Linked DNA regions of Homo sapiens: region 2 is linked to region 1. Evidence: promoter capture Hi-C in human tissues and cell types (Jung and others, 2019). All regions are on one chromosome and are shown on one strand. Each heading gives the region's core, a stretch centred on a gene start or on the middle of the fragment in contact. The rest is flanking DNA. Distances are from core to core; before and after follow the strand shown. Region 1 holds the start of CLMP (CXADR like cell adhesion molecule). Region 2 has its middle 2.7 kb from the start of SNORD14E.

Region 1 (3,282 bases), core at 703-3,202:
CCAATAGGCTTGTTGTGAAGAACAAACGAATTACCAAGATAGTACATATAAAGTGTTCATATAACAAGGACTATTAGCTGTTTTTAATAAGAGAGCCCTGAAGTTTCATTCTACTAAATATCTGGTGATTGGTAACCTAGTGGTAGAGTCCAGTAAAGGGAATCAAGGTGCCATCCAGCTGCGCCAGATGTGCACAGGAACAGTATTGCAGTATTTGGTTAAGTCTAAAAGAGTTTAGAAAATAACCCCTCCCCACCTGCCTTACTTGAGCAATAGTTTGGCTTAGCCCACCTCTTTCATTTCTCTAACTTAAGTGATTATCAGCCTGAGGCTGGCCAAGATGGGTATGCATACAGTATAATTGGTTTGTAAAGTTTCAAAAAAGACAGAGAACTCTAACCACGTATTTCAGGATTTGGTGGTTCTTCTAGACACCAGCCTCCTTCAAACCTCTGGTGTTGTAGGCTAGAAGGGACTTAGGAACCATCTAGTATTCTCTTTCCAGAGCTAAAGACGTGGAAGCCCTGGATAAGGAGTAAGTTGTCTGAGGCCACCCAGCTAGTCAGTTCAAAACCAGGACCAGCTCTCCCGTGGCCTGGTGTTCAGGGTAGTGCTCACTCTTGACCACTGGCTGGCTCTTTGATTTTCTGATCTCCAGCTAACTGTGGGGCCTGTCTGCAGTGGATCCCATGCTTCAGGGTGCATAGTGACGTGCCCTTGGCTCTCCCTGACTGCCTTTCCTGCCCTGGCTCCTCAGACATTTCCAGTCACTCCGGTGGGCTCCTACCACCCACATCCCTGATGTCCTCTCCTGCAAACCTGCCTCTGCCTCAGGGCCTCTGAGGCCCCAAGAGTCCTGCCTGGGGGACCCCAGGAAGGGACGCTCAGGAGGACTCTTCCCTTTGCTCTGGAGCCTGTTTCAGGAAAAAGTGGTGCTTGCTCTATTTCCCTCTGTTCTGGTTCCTCTGCTGCGTTTTTTCCAAGTCTTCTTCACTCTCTGTGCTCGGACTCCCCCAGCCTTGCTCTTCTGTTTTACATTCCTGTTCTCCTCTTTTTCTCTCTCCTTCCCAACCCTTCCCCTTTCCCCTTTTCCTTCCTTCCCTGTGTGACTTGGGGCATTTGCATCTTCCTGGTGCTCCTTGGGCCCTGCCCTTTTTCCCTCTCCCCTTTCCTCTCCAACCCTGCCTATCCCCCACTCTGCTCACCCTTTAACACATCTGTTTCTAATCTGAGCCTCGGAGGCGCCTGTTTGAAACAACAACAAAAAACCCCCACCCTCAGGAACCTGGCACAAAAATTCCTGGATAAACCTTCCCTCCACCAATTCTCCACTTTTCCCAGATACACCAGAAACTAAACACCGCCCTAAAGAGGACCCTGCACATCAAACGGTTCCCCAAGCCTGTTCAAGGGCCCAGATGTGCGAGACAATCTCGATGGCCGACTGGGCGGCCCTCGGTTGCCAGATGTGCTCCTCCGTGGCCAGGAGGCAGGGACTGAAAAGCCGGCTGACTCCAGGGGCTGCAGGGACACCCGGTCAGAACCGGCGTCTTTCCCGGACGCAGGGCTGCGTTTGCCCACGGCCATCCAAACTCCCGCCCTCCCAGAGGCACTCACCTAGCAAGAGGAGAAGGAGGAGGGACATCCCGATCCCCGGACGCGGGCGCTTCCCCGCTCAGCTGCTGCTTGGCTCCGGGGCGGCCGGGCGCCTCCGACGGACCTCGGGCGAGCTGGGCGCGGCGCCTCGGGGTGCGCGCGAGGTGGCTGCAGCCATGTGCCGGGCGGGAGCCGGCCCCGCGCCCCGTGCCCCTGGGGGCAGATGGGCTCCCGGCGCTCGCCCCACCAGCTGGCGCCCGGACGGGAGCCGGGACCAGGGTCAGGGAGGAAAACGCGAGGCGAAAAGGCGCTACCGCTTCGTGGAACACTTTTCCCTGTTTGGAAAGAAAAAGGAGTGAAGAAAGAGAGAGGGAAAAAAAAAATTCAGCTGGAACCACATGGTTGCCTCCTACCGCAGCCCCTCCCTCTCTCTCTCGCTGTTCCCTCCTTCCCTCCCTCCCTCCCGCGCGGCGTTTGGGGTTTGCGGTGGGGGCCGGTCGGGGAGAAGCGTGAGCTGGCCGGGCAGGGAGGGCCGGGGGAGACCTGGGGCCGTGCAGAGGCGGGTGGGTTGAGAGGCGCCGGGCGTAGGATTGATTCTTTGCAGGAGGCATTGGTGACACCTCGGCTGAGAGCCCATGGACGAGGCCTTGTCCGTTCCTAGAGCTCTGCTCTCACTTGGTCCTTCTCTCCACTTCTCTCTCGCTTCTTTTTTACTCTCGTTTCTCTCTGCTTCCACGTCTCTCACAAATCTGGCGTTTCTCTCTTCCATCTCTTCCTCTCTAGGTCTCCTTGTTCGCATTCTTGCCTCTCCCTCCTCGTCTCCTCATGCCCTCTCCCCTCTGTCCTCTGCGCTCTTCTCGCCTCTCCTCTCCCTCCCCGTCTGGTTCTGTTAGTGTAAAGCCACCAGACTGACCAGGCCGACGGCGGGGCGCGGAAGTGGGTGCGAAGGCAGCCAGCGGCCGGCCGACCAGGGCTCTCCCCACCGACTGCCTGCTTTGGCACCCGGCTACCCCCCTTGGCCTGGCTTTCCTGGGGCCTTTCGCGTTCGCTCGCTTTCTACTGTCGGTATTTGCAGCAGCGCTCCCTCAGGTCCCGAGCAGAGCTAAGCCAGCCAGCACCCAGGGGAAGGGGACCCACAGCCCCGTGGAAAGAGGTCTATCGAGATGCTTTGCAGCAAAGTGCTCTGCACGTGGCCCTGGCCAAAATGTGCACCACCCCCTTTCAGAAAGAACATAAGGCAGAGGGAGCAGAATCCCCCTGGTGCCAGGGCCTGCGCGCCCGGGCTCCGGGAACCCGGCCCAGGAGGCTCGCGGAGGGCAGGAGGCTGGCGGCCGGACGGGGGCGGACGGTGGGTTCCGCGGAGCCGAGCAGCCCCGCCCCAGGGTCGGCCCCTGGGAGTCTGCCCTTCACTACCCTGCTGCTCAGCGGCAGCGGGAGGCAGCGAGACTAAGAAAGGGCAGTGAGGGTGGCGCTCAGACCTCAGCTGCCTGGACCTCCTGCCCTGACCTTGTGCCCAGGGCCTCTCAGAAACTCTGGTCCCAGTCTCTGAATGTCCCTGGAGGGCTTCTCCCTCAGCTGCCCAGAGGCATGATGACGCAATCGCTCACCTTCGGCCTCGCCAGAGCCCAGGTTGGAAGCCGGGGCCAGCGCTCTTGAGAAGAAAGATGAACCCCGCCGGGGCCGGTG
Region 2 (2,836 bases), core at 291-2,790, 140 kb before region 1:
GAAGCGGGTGGATCACCCGAGCTCGGGAGCTCGAGACCAGCCTGACCAACATGGAGAAACCCTGTCTCTACCAAAACCACAAAATTAGCCGGGCATGGTGGCGCATGGCTGTAATCCCAGCTACTCGGGAAGCTGAGGCAGGAGAATTGCTTGAGCCCGGGAGGTGGAGGTTGCAGTGAGCTGAGATCTCATCATCGCACTCCAGCCTGGGCAACAAGAGCGAAATTCCATCTCAAAAAAAAAAAAAAAAAAAGGAGAAAAAGAATGCTTTGCCTGGAAGGTAATTGTGGATATTTAGAGCTGACTTCCTTTTCCTTCTTCATTATTTGCTGTGCTTCCAGCTAGAAAGCACAACAAACAGCACAGACAATGCTACAGCAGCTTCCCCCGGGGTACTCTGATAGTTTTATAAATAGCTACTGCCATCTAGTGGACAAAGATGACTACATCAGTACGTAGACCCACAGATACGGAAACTCTCAGCGTTTCTATTTATGTCCTGCAACCACTTCATCCCACCTTAATGGAATCCAAAAGACCACTTTTCCTTTGAAAGCCTAAAGCCTGGAACATTGTAAGTACTCAATATAGTTTGGACAAAGGATTTTTCACGGGCATTGTCATTTTTTAATTTTATATGTAACAAATATTGTAGTAATATTGTTGGATAATTTTATTATTGTGGCTTTATACTATTGCCTTAGAAGTTTAAGTCTATTAAGGGCCAGGCGTGGTGGCTCATGCTTGTAATCCCAGCACTTTGGGAGGCGGGCAGATTGCCTGAGCTCAGGATACTGAGCCTCGGTACACGATGAAACCCCATCTCTACTAAAACACAAAACATTAGCTGGGTGTGGCAGCGTGCACCTGTAGTCCCAGCTACTCAGGAGACTTAGGCAGAATTGCTTGAGCCCGGGAGGTGGAGGCTGCAGCAAGCTGAGATCACACCACTGCACTCCAGCCTGGGAAACAGAGCAAGACTCCCATCTCCAAAAAAAAAAAAAAAAAAGAAAAATGTCTAATAAGGTCAAGTAGAAACTGAGAGAGCTATAGTAATAAAAATACATTTTAGAATATAACCATATTGCCAAGTTCACCAGAAACCTGCATGTAACTCCTAAACTGGACCTAGAGATTAAGTTTTTTGGCCTGTCTTCCCAATCCAGTAGCGCCCTGTGCAGCAGGGACAGAACCATCTAGGTCATGGAGTTTCCTCTTATAAACTCAAACCTCCTTACAGTAACTTGCAAAAGCAAATTTTGCCACCGTGTAGATTTGTGCATGCACAGCCAGAGCATCCAAACATCCCTCCATTGTAAGGTTATTTGGAGAATCAAATAAGGGGAGAAGCAATTGCCATTAACTCGAAATTCAATGGGAAGTGGTAGACACTGCTGTCCCTATGGTTACCTTCTCTTTCTCTAAGCCTTACCTAACAGCTAATTAGACATTTATAGGGTTTAAACATCTTTACTGGTTTTTTAAACTACTAGCCCACAGCAGAACCCTAATTACAAACAATAGGCCAGGCACAGTGGCTCACACCTGTAATCTCGGCACTTTGGGAGGTCAAGGTGGGGCAAACCATTTTGAGGTCAAAAATTCAAGACCAGCCTGGCAACATGGCAAAACTCCCGCTCTATAGAAAATATGAAAATTAGCTGGGCATGGTGTCCCAGCTAGTCAGGTGGGAGAATGCAAAGGTGGGAGGATGCAAAAGTGGGAGGCAATGTCTGCAGTGAGATCGCACCACTGCACTCCAGCCTAGGTAAGGGAGGCTGGAGGCTCTCAAAAAAAAAAAAAAATCCATTTCCCCAGATTAGACTATGTGATGACATTAAGTGTCCACCTGAGCCTCAGTATCATCTATAAACACATTCTGGTTTATAAATAGATGAAAGTATAATACGAATAACTGAGAAAACCTAGCAAATATTAATTCCCACCTTCCCAGGCCCCAATTCCTTGCTATACATTACACATGTCCAACAAGTTATTATCTGTATAGGGGAAACATTGCCATATTTACTCCTCTAATTTTGTGTTTTGCTAATGAACATTAAGCTAACATTAACCTGAAGTTCAAAAATTTACAGTAACAGCTACCACTGAAAACCTTCCACATATTTTTAAGATTCCACATGAAACGAGATCAAAGTATATTTACCCTTTAGTCTCGTTGAGTCAAGGCATCAAAAAAGTTTGTAGCATCTCAAATACATGGTATGGCCATGTGCAGTGACATACACCTGTAGAGCCAGCTACTTGGAACTAAGGCTGGGTGACCACTTGGACCCAGGAGTTCCAGTCCAGCCTGCACAAGTGATAACACACCCCTATGGAAAACTGAAGCCCAGGTAAGATTCTCACCCAAACAAAAGAAACATGCCAAAAACGTGCATTGCTGTCAGGTGCAGTGACTCACACCTGTAATCCCAGCATTTTGGGAGGCCGAGGCGGGTGCACCACCTGAGGTAGGGAGATCAGCCTGACCAACATGGAGAAACCTCATCTCTACTAAAAAATACAAATTAGCCAGGAATGGTGGCGCATGGCTGTAATCCCAGCTACTTGGGAGGCTGAGGCAGGAGAATCCCTTGAACCCAGGAGACAGGGTTTGCACCATTGCAATGAGATCGTGCTATTGCACTACAGCCTGGGCAACAAGAGTAAAACCCTTCAAAAAAAGAAGTGTGTACTACTTGTCATTTTTTGTAACCTTGGAGAAAATATGGAATGAGAAGTATATCAAATCGTGCTACAAATTCCCACTGAGATACCCAGACATTAGTAGCCCTTCAGTACCAAAGAGAAAAACTGCAGCTCCTCCATGAAT

The links. Contacts are between HindIII fragments. The study calls those that stand out against the background at their distance.
Region 2: a contact is called between a fragment that was not itself captured here and the fragment with the promoter of CLMP in region 1, in 1 of the 25 tissues and cell types used here (aorta).

What each region holds. Positions count from the first base shown.
Region 1 is chr11:123,193,296-123,196,577 of GRCh38, forward strand. It overlaps CLMP (CXADR like cell adhesion molecule), which reads right to left and starts at 1,953. Exons shown (of 7, transcript NM_024769.5): 1 at 1,618-1,953. The coding sequence starts at 1,645. The HindIII fragment of the contact is 11,250 bases long and covers 1-3,282 here.
Region 2 is chr11:123,054,047-123,056,882 of GRCh38, forward strand. No RefSeq gene overlaps it. Among named protein-coding and RNA genes, the nearest start is that of SNORD14E, 2.7 kb to the right of the region's middle. The HindIII fragment of the contact is 9,040 bases long and covers 1-2,836 here.